Regions from separate parts of the Homo sapiens genome. Here all the other regions are linked to region 5. Evidence: promoter capture Hi-C in human tissues and cell types (Jung and others, 2019). All regions are on one chromosome and are shown on one strand. The core of a region is centred on a gene start or on the middle of the fragment in contact, and the rest is flanking DNA. Distances in the headings are between cores, read along the strand shown. Region 1 overlaps NPC1 (NPC intracellular cholesterol transporter 1). Region 2 overlaps LAMA3 (laminin subunit alpha 3). Region 3 overlaps LAMA3 (laminin subunit alpha 3). Region 4 overlaps LAMA3 (laminin subunit alpha 3). Region 5 holds the start of ANKRD29 (ankyrin repeat domain 29).

Region 1 (2,785 bases), core at 52-2,551, 100 kb after region 5:
ACAACTTACATAACTCATAGTACATCTAGAACTAGAAATACCATTTGACCCAGCCATCCCATTACTGGGTATATACCCAAAGGATTATAAATCATGCTGCTATAAAGACACATGCACACGTATGTTTATAGCGGCACTATTCACAATAGCAAAGACTTGGAACCAACCTAAATGTCCAACAACGATAGACTGGATTAAGAAAATGTGGCACATACACACCATGGAATACTCTGCAGCCATAAAAAATGATGAGTTCATGTCCTTTGTAGGGACTTGGATGAAACTGGAAACCATCATTCTCAGCAAAATATCGCAAGGACAAAAAACCAAACACCGCATGTTCTCACTCATAGGTGGGAATTGAACAATGAGAACACATGGACACAGGAAGGGGAACGTCACACACCGGGGACTGTTGTGGGGTGGGGGCCTGGGGGAGGGATAGCATTAGGAGATATACCTAATGCTAAATGACGAGTTAATGGGTACAACACATCAACATGGCACACGTACACATACGTAACAAACCTGCACGTTGTGCACATGCACCCTAAAACTTAAAGTATAATAATAATTAAAAAAAAAACTCATAGTACAATGATCAAAACCACGACCATGCCATTATTATTACATTATTATTAGCTAAACCAGAGATCTTAATCAGATTTCACCAGCTTTTTCTCTAATGCCCTTCCCTGTTTCAAGGTCCCATATTACATTTTTGTGTTTTATGAGTCCCCTCTAATCTGTGACAGAAAGTTCCTCAGTCTTTCCTTTTCTGGCCTTAACACTCTTGATGATACTGGTCAGGTATTTTGTAGCATGTCCTTCCATTTGGCTTTATCTGGTATTTTCTCATGATGAGATTGAAATAAGGTGTTTTGACAAGTACATCACAGAAGTCATGTTATGTCTTTCTCGGTGCATCATGTCAGGGATCCCTGATGTTGATGCGTCTCTTTCCTGGTGATGTTAACCTTGATCACTTGCTCAAGGTGATGTCTGCTGGCTATCTCCACTGTGAAGTTACTGCTTTTCCCTTCGTAATTGATAAATATCTTGGGGGAAGATGCTTTGAGACTATACTAATATTTTGTTCCTCCTGAAACTCAACCACTGATTTTAGCATTCATTGTTGGGTCTTGTCTGCAACAGTTATAACTAAGGTGTTTGCCTGATAGTGATTTTTTTCTCTTTCCCTCTCTTCCTCTGCATTTACTAACTGGACTTCTGTACAGAAAGCTATCCCTTCTCCCTCATTTATTTACTCAGTTATTTACATCATGGACTTTTAATTCTGTGGGTTGTATCCAACACTGTCATTTATCTTGTTACTCAAAGTTTTCCACTTTGGGCCATTGGGAGTGCCTTCTGGCTGGCTTCTGTGTTCTTACATACACCTCCCATCCCCAGCTTTATCTTACATATTCCCTGTCCCTGCCCTGCAAGGAGCTCTGGTTCCTTTTATTGGAGAATGGTATGTAGAAACGAAGATCTGGGCACTAGGTATGCTCATTGCTGCTGGAAAGAGTAGCATGTTTTTGTTTGTTTGTTTGTTTTTTTGAGATGGAGTCTTGCTCTGTCACCAGGCTGGAATGCAGTGGCGCGATCTCAGCTCACTGCAACCACCGCCTCCCTGGTTCAAGCAGTTCTCCTGCCTCAGCCTCCCAAGGCACGTGCCACCACACCCAGCTAACCTTTTTGTATTTTTAGTAGAGACAGGGTTTCACCATGTTGGCCAGGTTGGTCTCGATCTCTTGACCTCGTGATCCCGCCCACCTTGGCCTCCCAAAGTGCTGGGTTTACAGGCGTGAGCCACCGCGCCTAGCCCAGTAGTGTGTTTTTAAAGGACCTAAAAGTTTTAAATAAAATGAGGGCCACAAGGTGAAATTATCCTTTATTAATTGTTCTCTTAACATCTTCTTAAATTTTCTCCTGAGACTGGTGAGCAGAGGGACCCAGAGCAAGGGGACTTAGGGGAAAGAAGGCAGTAATTAGGGAGGAGGAGGCCAGGAGGAGGAAGAAAGCATTTCATGGGATTACAGGAATGTCCCAAAAACAACCTCACTGTGATGAAGTCCACTAATGCTATTTCTTCACTTCTGTTTTTCAGAAAACGGTATTTTGTCTCCGAGTACACTCCCATCGATAGCAATATAGCTTTTTCTGTTAATGCAAGTGACAAAGGTAGGCATATTTGTCCATGAATAAAAGGGTTCAGATGATGCTGTCTGTCATGAGAGCATTCGTTTCCTCAGTGGGGTTGCAGCAGTGGGTGAGGTGGTGTGCCAGTGCCGAGGACACGGCTGCGACCAAGGCAGACATGGTCCTTGCCTTTGTGGCCCTACCATCTAGTCAGGGTGGCACAGCAGAACCAAGTAATTAATCATAGCTGGGGAGGCGCGAAAGCAGCAGGACAAGAGTGGGAATAGCAGGGCAGGGTTGAACCTCACCCTTCAGAGGCTCCTGTGTCGGCATCTCCTCTGTGGGGTGGGAATAGCGCTCATTGAGGGCAGCCAACAAAGGTGGCTTTGCTGAGCAGATAGGTAGCTGAGGGCAGGGGTCTCATATGTGTCCCCAGGTGGGCTTGATTCCTGCCATGAGATAGCAACTAATGCTTTCCCTGTTCCGACTTTCAGGAACGGCTTGGCTCTTAACCTCCACCTTCCCTTCCTCTCCCGTTCTTCCAGGAGAGGCGTCCTGCTGTGACCCTGTCAGCGCAGCATTTGAGGGCTGCTTGAGGCGGCTGTTCACACGCTGGGGGTCTTTCTGCGTCCGAAACCCT
Region 2 (2,738 bases), core at 13-2,512, 110 kb before region 5:
TCAAATTAGAGTTAATATTGTATTATTTTTTATGCTATTGTTGCATATGTATTATATTTACATGCATTTTATAAATACCATGAGACAATGTCATAAATTTTGTTGTAAGCGGCCCTACATACTCTAATTTTTTCCAGCTATATTGAAGTATTATTTACAAAATATTCTTTTATTTTCCTTTTCCATTATTTATTCTCTCCTCTAAAACATTTACAAATGGGATTGAGTAAAGGAAAATAATTACAGATCATTGTATTACCATAAAAGGGCAGAGATTTGGAAATAAAGAGGGGTTGGGAAGGTAGGTAGTTTCCTAAAATTCTTTTTCCAAAAAAAAAATTCAACTCTAATTTTAGATTCAGGGGGTACATGTACAGATTTGTTAGCTGGATATATTGCATGGCGCTCAGCTTTGGTGTATGATTGATCCTGCCACCCAGGTACTGAGCATAGTACCCAATAGTTAGTTTTTCGACCCTTGTCGCCCTTCTTCGCTCTCCCCTCTAGTAGTCCCCAGTGTCTATTGTTTCCACCTTTATGTCCATGAGTACCCAATGTTTAACTCCCACTTGAAAGTGAGAACGTGTGGCGTTTGGTTTTCCGGTTTTGCATTAATTTGCTTAGGATAATGACCTCCAGCTGCATCCATGCTGCTGCAAAGGGTATGATTTCATTCTTTTTTATGTCTGTGTAATATTCCATCATGTATATATACCACATTTTCTTTATCCAATCCACCACTGATAGGCACCAAGGTTGATTCCATGTCTTTGTTATTGTAAATAATGCTCCAATGAACATATGAGTGCATGTGACCTTTTGATGAAATAATTTATTTCTTTTGGATATATGCCAATTAATAGGATTACTGGGTTGAATGGTAGTTTTGTTTTCTTTGAGAAATCTCCAAACTGCTTTCCATAGTGGCTAAAATAATTTACATCCCCACCAGCAATGTATAAGTAAGTGTTCTCTTTTCTCTGCAACCTGAGCAGCATTTGTTGTTTTTTGACTTTTTAATAATAGCCATTCTAGCTGGTGTGAGATGATATCTCATTGTGGTTTTGACATGCATTTCTATGATGATTAGTGATATGGAGCATTTTTTCATACGTTTGTTGGCCACTTGTATGTCTTCTTCTGCAAAGTGTCTGTTCATGTCTTTTGCCCATTTTTTAATGGAGTTATTTGTTTTTTGCTTGCTGAACTATTTAAGTTCCTCATATATTCCGAATATTAGACCTTTGTTAGGTGCACAGTTTGCAAATATTTTCTCCCACTCTGTAGGCTGTCTGTTTACTCTGCTGATAGTTTTTTTTTTTTTTGTAGTATAGAAGCTCTTTAGTTTAATTAGGTCCCATTTGTCAATTTTTTGTTTTGTTGAAATTGCTTTTGAGAACTTAGCCATAAATTATTTCCGAAGGCCAATGTCCAGAATGGTGTTTCCTAGGTTTTCTTCTAGGATTCTTATAGTTTGAGGTCTTACATTTAAATCTTTAGTCCGTCTTGAGTTAATTATTGTATAATATATGGTGAAAGGTAGGGGTCCAGTTTCATTTTTCTGCACATGGAGAGACAACTATCTTAGCACCATTTATTGAATAGAAAGACCTTTCCTTGCCAGGCACGGTGGCTGACACCTGTAATCCCAGCACTTCGGGAGGCTGAAGCGGGTGGGTCACCTGAGGTCAGGAGTTTGAGACCAGCCTGGCCAACATGGTGAAACTCTGTTTCTACTAATAATGAAAAATTAGCCAGGCATGATGGCACACACCTGTAGTCCCAGCTACTTGGGAGGCTGAGGCAGGAGAATTACTGGAACCCGGGAGGCAGTGCAATAAGCCCAGATCGTGCCACTGCACTCCAGCCTGGGTGACAGAGCAAGACTCTGTCTAAAAAAAAAAAAAAAAAAGAAAAGAAAGAAAAAAGAAAAAAAGTCCTTTCCTCATTGCTTATTTTTGTTAACTTTGTTGAAGATCAGATGGCTGTAGGTGTGTGGCTTTATTTTTGAGTTCTGTATTCTGTATAGTTTGAAGTCAGGTAATGTTATGCCTCTGGCTTTGTTCTTTTTGCCTAGGGCTGCTTTGGCTATTTGGGCTCTTTTTTTGGTTTCTTCTGAATTTTAGAATAGTTTTTTATAGTTTTGTCAAAAATGACATAGATAGAAATAGCGTTGAATCTGTAGATTGCTTTGGGCAGTATGGCCACTGTAATGTTACTAATTCTTCCAATCCATGAGCATGGAATGTCTTTTCATTTGTTTTTGTCATCTATTATTTCTTTCAGTCAGTATTTTGTAGTTGTCCTTGTAGAGATCTTTCACCTCCTTGGTTAGATGTATTCCTAGATTTGGGCTTTTTTTATTGTTTGTTTTTTGCAGTTACTGTAAATGGGATTGTGTTCTTGATTTGGCTCTCAGCTTGAACATTATTGGTGCATAGAAATGCTACTGATCTTTGTATCCTGAAACTTTACTGAAGTTGTTTATCAGTTCCAGAAGCCTTCTGGAAGAGTCCTTAGGTTTTCTAAGTATAGAATCATATCATTAACAAAGAGAGATAGTTTGACTTTTTCTTTTGCTATTTGAATGTCTTCTATATCTTTCTCTTGACTGATTGCTCTGGCTAGGACTTCCAAGAATTTTTTTTTTCTTTGAGACAGTCTTTTTCTGTCACCCAAGCTGGAGTGTAGAGGCATGATCTTGGCTCACTGCAACCTCTGCCTCCTGGGTTCAAGTG
Region 3 (2,740 bases), core at 42-2,541, 66 kb before region 5:
AAAAACAAAAAAAAGGAGTAAAAGCAAAATTACAGATAGGGATGAAATGTTGGAACCTGTAATGAGGTTTGCACACAAAATAATGCAGGCCATGAAGCTGTGTCCACCTGCATGGTGGAGCCATACATTTGCCCCTATGCTTCTAGTAGCCAGCAAAAAGAGGGAAACTTAATCCCAGGGTCCATACATTTTTGTTTTATTTCGTTTTTTAATGTCCTAAAGAAGCACAACTATTCCGGGACTAAAGGGATTGTCCAAATGGATCTTTGCAGGGGAACACAGTGGGCAGTGATGAACAACATCATGACAGCATCCTGCGAGAGGGACAGCAATTATGACCAAACACCCACACGGGCCATGAGCATTCCAGCTAAGCCCAGCACAGACAGGACGGGAGCGTCACGTACATTGCCATCACACAGCGCCTAAGGCTGGCTCTGGTGCCAGACTTGGGGGAGCAAATCCCGGGTCTATCCCATACAACCCTGTGAGGCTATGAAACATCTCTGGGCTTCCCATTTCCCCTTCTAGAACGTGGGGACCCACCTCATAAGCTTGCAGTGAGGATTAAATGAGTTAATAATGGTAAAGTGCTTAGGTCAATTTCTAGCATGTGAATTATGTTAACAGTAAATTTATGTTATATCTGCCATATATATATATAATCATTTTTAAATTCTAAATGATTACCTTTTGAAGCAGATGTTGAAGAGTTTTCGAAGACTTACAAGATTATCTACCACAAAAGAGCAACATACTTTCTCCCTACCATCTATTTTTGAAATATTTAAATTAATACAATTAATACTCTAAATGACCAAAGATCCAACCTTTTCATTATGTCTTCAGTGTGTTCCAAGTTATAAAAGACAAATATTTTTACTATCTGTTGCATATGTATGGCTTTGGTATGTATATGAGGGACATATGAGAATAGGGCAGACATAAGTAAGGAAGTCTCTGTATCTTCATTCATTCATACACGAAGTATACATTTGCTGGATTATTTCTACATACCAGACATTCTCCTAGGTGGTGGGGATACAGAAAGGGACAGAATATTATTCTGTACTCCAGTCATAATTCAGTTGAGATCTCTCTGTCTCTCTCTCTCTCTACACACACAAACACACACACACACACACACACACACACACATACACACACAATACATCATATGCACTTTTTAAAAACTTCAGTATGGTCACCCCTCAATACTTTCCTTCATTCTTTTTTTTTTTTTTTTTTTTGAGACGGAGTCTTGCTCTGTTGCCCAGGCTGGAGTACAGCGGTACGATCTCCGCTCACTGCAACCTCTGCCTCCCGGGTTCAAGCGATTACCCCGTCTCAGCCTTCTGAGTAGCTGAGACTATAGGTGCGCACCACCACACCTAGCTAATTTTTGTATTTTTAGTAGAGACAGAGTTTCACCATGTTGGCCAGGCTGGTCTCGAACTCCTGACTTCAGGTGACCCGCCTGCCTCGGCCTCCCAAAGTGCTGGGATTACAGGAGTGAGCCACTGCACCAGCCGTTTCCCTTCATTCTTTAAAAGATGACAACTGGAGAGCTTTGGCAAATTTCAGCCAGTAGAAAAGCAAGTCAGAAGGCTGCGTGTCACTCATAGTCCCAGGGATAGACACTTCCTTCCTACTAGAAGGAAGTGATTGAGGAGAGCTTAATAAAGCACCTACAGCATTGACAAAGGCAGTGGCAGCAGGAGGGAAGCCTTCTGGTAATGGGGAAGCATCTCAGAGCTAAGAAGATCTGAGGACCTCTCCTACCCTGGGCTGAAGGGGAAGGAGAGGGAACAGATGCTGGATCCCAGACAGAGCTGGAGCCTTACAGTGAGTTGCCTGCCAGGAGCCAAGATCCTCCTTAGGATGAAACAGCTGGGATACTGCAGCCTATGGGCCAACAGAGGCAGCTGGGGGACCAAATGCCCCATTGTCCTTGCCCTCCTACCCCCTGAGCACCTGGGATACCTCCCCCCAGCCTGTTGCTGCTGTCCAGGAAGGTCACCAGCCTGGGTCACTGGGCACAGAACAGGCGTAAGTGGACAGATAGGAGGGAGACTATCTGGGTCACAAGAGGGCTTGGGCTGTTTAAAGTTTCAAATAATGAACAAATGTATCTTGAACTACATCACCAAATCTGAGCCAGAGGAGAGACTTGAGGTAGCAGAGAAGAGGAGGCCTTTTCAGGATGTATCTGAATAGCTCTGAAGCTCTGAAGAAAAGGTTCAGTAGGCCAGGCACCAGTGGCTCACAGCTGTAGTGCCAGCACTTTGGGAGGCCGAGGCAGGAGGATCACTTGAAGCCAGGAGTCCAAGACCAGCCTGAACAACATAGTGAGACCCTATCTCTACAAAAATAAAATAAAATCAATAGTGGGGTGTGGTGGCACGTGCCTGTGCTCCTAGCTACTGGGGTGGTTGAAGCAGGAGGATCACTTGAGCTCTGGAGTTCGAAGCTCCAGTGAGCTATGATCACGCCACTACATTCCAGCCTGGGCGACAGAGCAAGGTCCTATCTCAAAATAAAACAGAAAGAAAAGAAAAGTTACAATACATGGCCTAGAGCAGCACTACTCAAAGTGTGGTCCATGGACCAGTGCTGGTCCAGGAACTGTTTGTTACTCATTCACAATAAAACAAGGGGCCAGGGGAGGTGGCTCATGCCCATAATCCAGCACCTTGGGAGGCCGAGGCAGGCAGATCACCTGAGGTCAGAAGTTGGAGAC
Region 4 (2,814 bases), core at 226-2,725, 88 kb before region 5:
AACCCCCAAAAAGACAATTTAAGAAAAAAAAAATTGGTAGGGTACATTTGTGGCAGTGCTCCAGGGCACATGGAGGAACAGAAACACAGCCCGGCTATAGTTTATGAGAAAGTCCAGCCCTCCCTTGTAAATATCCATCCTCAGATTCAACACAGTCCCCAACTACACAGAAGCTCAGAGGGAGCTGAGGAGAGCAAAAAAATACAAAAGATAGGCCACCTACACCCAAGGTGCCTGCCTTTCTGGAAAATGCTCAAAACTGTGGCAATACTTATACTTTTCCCTCCCTTCCTTTCCCAGCTCTCTGATGTTACCTATATAAAAAGCCAAACTCTATAAGGTGCACTGGGCATCTTCCATTCACCCTCCAGATCTGCTCTCCACGTTCTCCACCCTGTCCTGTGCCCAGGAGCTGAACTTTATGGTTGCAACCAATGGACTGTCTTTCTCTCTGGCTTCTTGTTTGCTTTGGCCAATGGAAGGCACCAGTAGATCAGAGGGTGGAAGAAGAGTGAGCTCAATGTGTTTATTCTGTGGGCTCCCTCTGTGCCCAGGAGACAAGTGTACTGCCCTGACACCTGAGAGTGAGAGATGTTCATGGTGTACCTCCAACACAGGAGAGGGTACTAGTGCTCACCAATACCTATGTGCCTCCATTTCAGCTAGATGACATCACCCAGCCTCCTTGCATCTAAGTGAGGCTATGATATGACCAGTTCTTGCCCATAGAAGTAACCTCTGATGAGAAGCAGGTAGATTTTTCTCTATACTCTCTCTTCCCTCATCTGAGGACCAAGAGGTAGGGGATCCAGAGGAGGACTCTGAGGTCCTACAAAATGGCTGCACCTCTGGATAGAAAGAACCTGCTTCCCTGAATTACTGTGTGGAGCCGATCCTACCTGCTGACCCATGTTAAACTGTAATAGGAGCAAGAAACAAAGCTTTATTTTGTTAAGCCACTGAGATTTGGGAATTGTTGGCTGTAGTATTAATTATCCCATCCAGACTAGTACCAGGCTGACTATAATCATTTGCCTTTCATCTTCTTTGAATATAATGATTTTTCTTCAAACAGCCATTTTTATAAGTCATTAGATATAAACTCCTAATTATATCTAGTATTTCAGATAAGAACAACTCCCACACCTACATCATTACAGGCTATAAAGGTTACTTAAAAGAGTTCAAGGCAATTAATTTGGTAAGCCAAAAAAATGAATAAATAAAGTAACAAAACAAATGCTCTGACTACTCACCCGCCGAGTGACAGTTGGATCTCGCTGGGCTTTGGAGATGAGGTGTCCAAGAAGCGTATTGGTTCTAAGAAAACGCAAGCGGATGTTTGTTGCCTTGGTAAACTCCCTCAGGGTGTGAGAGAAAGTAAAATTTTTTGCACCTGGACGACCGTTTATCAAGGACACCACAACCTAAAATGACCACACACACATAAAGGGGGAAAAAGTTCCTTTTATCAAAATTTAGCAGCAAGTAAGTAAAAATAACTCACATGCCCCAAGGCACTTGGTTTCTTTGAGCCATTTGATATTCGTAGGGGGTCTTGGGTCTTGTTTATGTCTAAAAACATCATTGCTAGTCCCATCTTCCCTCACACTTCCTGGTTCCAAGGTCTGGCAATACGTCTTTGAAATCTGGGCTCTCGGGAGATGTTATCATTACGTTTTCAAAGCCTTTGTTCTATCAGGGTAGTTGTGGGACTGTAACACTATGAAATGTTGAAAACATAATGTTAAAACCTGTAAATATAAGGACACAACTTTCTTAAGCTGCATCAAAGAAACAAAGCTAAAGTAACCCAAAAATCTACATGAGGTTGAAAAAAGGAAATCTCTAGATATAAAGTTTGACAGTAATGGGGCAAAAAAAAAAAAAAAAAAAAAAAAAAAAAAAAAAACTGTGTAAACCCTCCATTTTGTTTTAAAGCCCAAAGTGATGAAGCCCAAGTGTCAACCATTGGAAATATGAACCACTCATGAGCTGTCAGAAGATACCGCATACACATGCTCAAGTAAGATCTCTCTACTTAAAGAGAGGGAGGCTGACACCTTTGAAGGAAGTTTATTTGAAACTCAGTTCATATTCATTATGGCCTCACAATTTCCATGGAAATCTTCTCTGATTGTTTCACCTTTGTTTGCCCATCTCCCTTAACAATAGCCAACCTGACTTTACAAGGGCCAAATGCAACCCCACAGGGACAGCAATTTTTTCTCTCCAACAGATTACACCCATTCTACCAAAAGGGATCAGGGATCACGTAGGATCGGCTCCATGCAGTCATTCAGGGAAGCAGGCTCTTTCTATCTAGAGGTGCAGCCGTTCTGTAGGACCTCAGAGTCCTCCTCTGGATCCCCTACATCTGGTCATCAGATGAGGGAAGAGACAGTATAGAGAAAATCTACCTGCTGCCACCTGTCCTTCCTCTCCTCACTCTTACGGGGTATCATGGGATCATAGGTGAAGAGGTAAGGGGTCATCATTTCAGTTACCAGCAACCCACTTTATAAATACATCACCAGAAAGGACAGTTCAAGACCTGCGGGCTTTGGATCAAGAATCCTGACTTTCTGGGGATAACTGAAATCCCCCAACAGAATTTCCAACCTGGCTCATTCTGGGAGCCCTCAATGTGATTCCTTTACTGTTCAGTCCCAAGCCCTGTTTCCATCTTGATCTATGTTAGATGTCCTTGAAAGTGCAAGTTTCGCAATTATGAAAAATTGGATATCCTCATGGTCATTTCTGAGTCTTATCTCTCCCAGTCTTCCAAATCTACTTACCTCACCATTTTCCAAA
Region 5 (2,700 bases), core at 167-2,666:
AAAAACTATTAAAGCAAAACCTCTGATGCTTGATTTTTATATAATAACGTTGTGTGGCAACTTAAAAACTGTGTCATTTATAGGCACTCAAGGCAAGGAAAATGTTTAGAGTCCTTATTTTTAAAATTGGAATTTTCTATAAAAGTTCAGAATGTTTTTAATTTAAAGTTGTTTTAAGCACAAAGTAATACAATTTATCCATGAAGGTTAAACATTTTAATTTTTATCATTAACTTTTATTTGTAATTGTTTTCTACCTTTTAAATTAAATATTCGTTACAAATTTAATTGAGAAGAGGGAAGGAGGGGGAGAATGAATGAGTGGATTCTTATAGTTTGAGGGGGTAAGACCTCCATTTTTATACTATTTTTTTGTTTTGTTTTTATTTTTATTTTTGAGGCAGAGTCTTGCTCTGTTGCCCAGGCTGGAGTGCAGTGACCGAATCTTGGCTCACTGCAGCCTCAACCTCCCAGGTTCAAGCGATCCTCCCACCTCAGCCTCCCGAGTAGCTGGGACTACAGGTGCGCACCACCACGCCTGGCTAATTTTTGTATTTTTAGTAGAGATAGAGTTTTGCCATGTTGGCCAGTCTGATCTCGAACTCCTGGACTCAAGTGATCTGCCCGCCTTTGGCCTCCCAAAGAGTTGGGATTATAGGCGTGAGCCACTATGCCTGGGCTACTTTTTTACTTTCACTTTTCTAAAATGCTCTCAAAGAGCTGTTGTTGCCGTTTATACTTAAAACTCCCAGTTTTACTTCGCCCAAACCAATCCTGGGCAGGCAGCAGGAGTGGACACACATACTGCAATACTCCAGGGCTGCAGCATCAGACCCAGAGGAGGAGGGAACTGCTGGATTAATAACGCGGAGGAGGAGGAGGGGTATGAGTCTATTCCAAAATTGGCCTTTGCCCTTCAAAGAGGAAAAGACCACTTATTGTTTGTGCAATCAAAAGGTTTGTTTCCTAGATATTTTCCCCAGGAGAAAAAAGTTTCCCAGGAAACCGAGAAAGAAATTATAACGAAAATAGCTATTGGATGAATTTTTTCCTCAAGCTTCATTTTTACATCATTATAATATTTGTGCTGTAATGAAGGTTGGGAGTCCTCTGGGGCAGACCAGTCTATTTGGGAGGATATGTATGGAGTTTGTGTGTGAGTACATGCGGGTGAGTGGGCGTGAGTGTGGAAAGTATGTGTGTGGAACCTCTGTGTGTGTGGAATGTGGAGCGTATGCACAATGTGTGTGGAGTTTGGAGTGTGTGTGTGGACGAGTGAGTGTGGAAGTGTGGACGTGTGTGGAAAGTGCACAGTGCGTGCGGAGTTTGGGGTGTTTGTGCACGCGCGTGTGTGGCAGGTCCTGGAGCGCGTCCACGCGACACCCCATGTGTAGTGTGCGCGCGCGCGCGCCCCCGCGCCGCCCCTTCGGCCCGGCCCTGTGTGCGGCGGCTGCTGCCGGGCCGGGCGGCGGGAGCGCGCGGCGTCGGAGGCCGCCCCTCTGCGGAACGCCGAGAGCCCCGGGAGAGTGAAGGGCCGGGGAGGACAAGGCGCCCCGGGCCCAAAGCGCGCCGGCTCCCGCTCGGGCGGCCGCGGACATGTGCAGGATGTCCTTCAAGGTGAGCGACCGGGACTCCGGGGTCAGGGCTGGGGCCGGGCTCGGGCGGCCGGGCCCGCGGGGTCGGGTGGGGTGGGATGGGGTGGGATGGGGTGGGCGCTGCCCGCTGCCCGCCGCCTCCTCCTTCCTCTCTCCTCCAGCTGCGGGCGAGGCCCGGGAGGAAGCGGCGGGGCTGGGTGCGCCCTGTGGGTTTGCGGTTTGCCTGCCTGCCCTGCCTGAGAGGCTTCGCACTCATGGCTGTGGATCGGCTGAGTCTGTGCCCGGCGACGGGGCGGCGGGGACTGTCGCCGGGTAACAGGTCGGGGGCGGGTAAGAAGCCTGGGGTCAGCGCTGTCCTGCAGCAGAAGGAGTCCCCGACCCTGACCCTCTGGGTCCTCATGCAGGAGTACCAGCTGCACCCACGGATGCCTCCTCCCCGGAGGGGTGGCCAGCACCCAGGGAGGCTTCAGGGTCCAAAGGTGTCTTGTCTCAAAAGAGTTGATTAAAGTCATTCCATCTAATCCCCACATTTTAGGATGAAAGAGGTTGATTTGCCTCGATTGAAAGGGTTTAATAAAAATAGCAGTTAAAATGTATTAAACAGTTCAAATGTGCCTGACTCTGAACCAAGGACATGGTGTGTATGGTCTCAACCCTGGGGGAGACCTGTGGGAGGTGCTCTTCGTGGCTCTTTTTTTTTTTTTTTTCAAATGAGAAAACTAAGATATAGAGAAATTAACTCACCCACGGTTTTGCAGCCAATAAGTTATGGTGTTAAGACTGAAACCCAAGTGTGTCTGACTCCTAAGCCACTGTAATCCCGTTGCCGACAATAGCTCATGTAAGCAGAGGAGTGACATGGCGAGATGTGCATGTTGCAAAGATCTCTGGCTAGGTTTGGAGAAGAGGGTTGGAGCTGGAAGATGTTGTCATCTTTTTAAGAAATGGTACTGGACCAGTGCATAGGTGGTGAGAATGGAACGAAGCAGACGAATGTGAATGACTTTAAAGTTTTTTTTCCTGAGACGGAGTTTTGCTCTTGTTGCCCAGGCTGGAGTGCAATGGTGTGATCTCAGCTCACTGCAACTTCCGCCTCCCGGGTTCA

The links. Contacts are between HindIII fragments. The study calls those that stand out against the background at their distance.
Region 1: a fragment that was not itself captured here is called in contact with the fragment with the promoter of ANKRD29 in region 5 in 3 of the 25 tissues and cell types used here (IMR-90 fibroblasts, aorta and pancreas).
Region 2: a fragment that was not itself captured here is called in contact with the fragment with the promoter of ANKRD29 in region 5 in 2 of the 25 tissues and cell types used here (dorsolateral prefrontal cortex and spleen).
Region 3: a contact is called between a fragment that was not itself captured here and the fragment with the promoter of ANKRD29 in region 5, in 2 of the 25 tissues and cell types used here (lymphoblastoid cells and thymus).
Region 4: a fragment that was not itself captured here is called in contact with the fragment with the promoter of ANKRD29 in region 5 in 3 of the 25 tissues and cell types used here (H1 embryonic stem cells, IMR-90 fibroblasts and lymphoblastoid cells).

The regions. Positions count from the first base shown.
Region 1 is chr18:23,556,519-23,559,303 of GRCh38, reverse strand. It overlaps NPC1 (NPC intracellular cholesterol transporter 1), which reads left to right. Exons shown (of 25, transcript NM_000271.5): 7 at 2,114-2,187; 8 at 2,691-2,785. Among named protein-coding and RNA genes, the nearest start is that of NPC1, 29 kb to the left of the region's middle. The HindIII fragment of the contact is 8,970 bases long and covers 1-2,785 here.
Region 2 is chr18:23,766,753-23,769,490 of GRCh38, reverse strand. The region is part of intron 8 of LAMA3 (laminin subunit alpha 3); the gene reads right to left. Among named protein-coding and RNA genes, the nearest start is that of LAMA3, 79 kb to the right of the region's middle. The HindIII fragment of the contact is 6,883 bases long and covers 1-2,738 here.
Region 3 is chr18:23,727,541-23,730,280 of GRCh38, reverse strand. The region is part of intron 2 of LAMA3 (laminin subunit alpha 3); the gene reads right to left. Among named protein-coding and RNA genes, the nearest start is that of LAMA3, 39 kb to the right of the region's middle. The HindIII fragment of the contact is 3,457 bases long and covers 1-2,740 here.
Region 4 is chr18:23,749,531-23,752,344 of GRCh38, reverse strand. It overlaps LAMA3 (laminin subunit alpha 3), which reads right to left. Exons shown (of 75, transcript NM_198129.4): 4 at 2,799-2,814; 5 at 1,257-1,427. Among named protein-coding and RNA genes, the nearest start is that of LAMA3, 61 kb to the right of the region's middle. The HindIII fragment of the contact is 7,397 bases long and covers 1-2,814 here.
Region 5 is chr18:23,661,627-23,664,326 of GRCh38, reverse strand. It overlaps ANKRD29 (ankyrin repeat domain 29), which reads left to right and starts at 1,416. Exons shown (of 10, transcript NM_173505.4): 1 at 1,416-1,617. The coding sequence starts at 1,597. The HindIII fragment of the contact is 14,259 bases long and covers 1-2,700 here.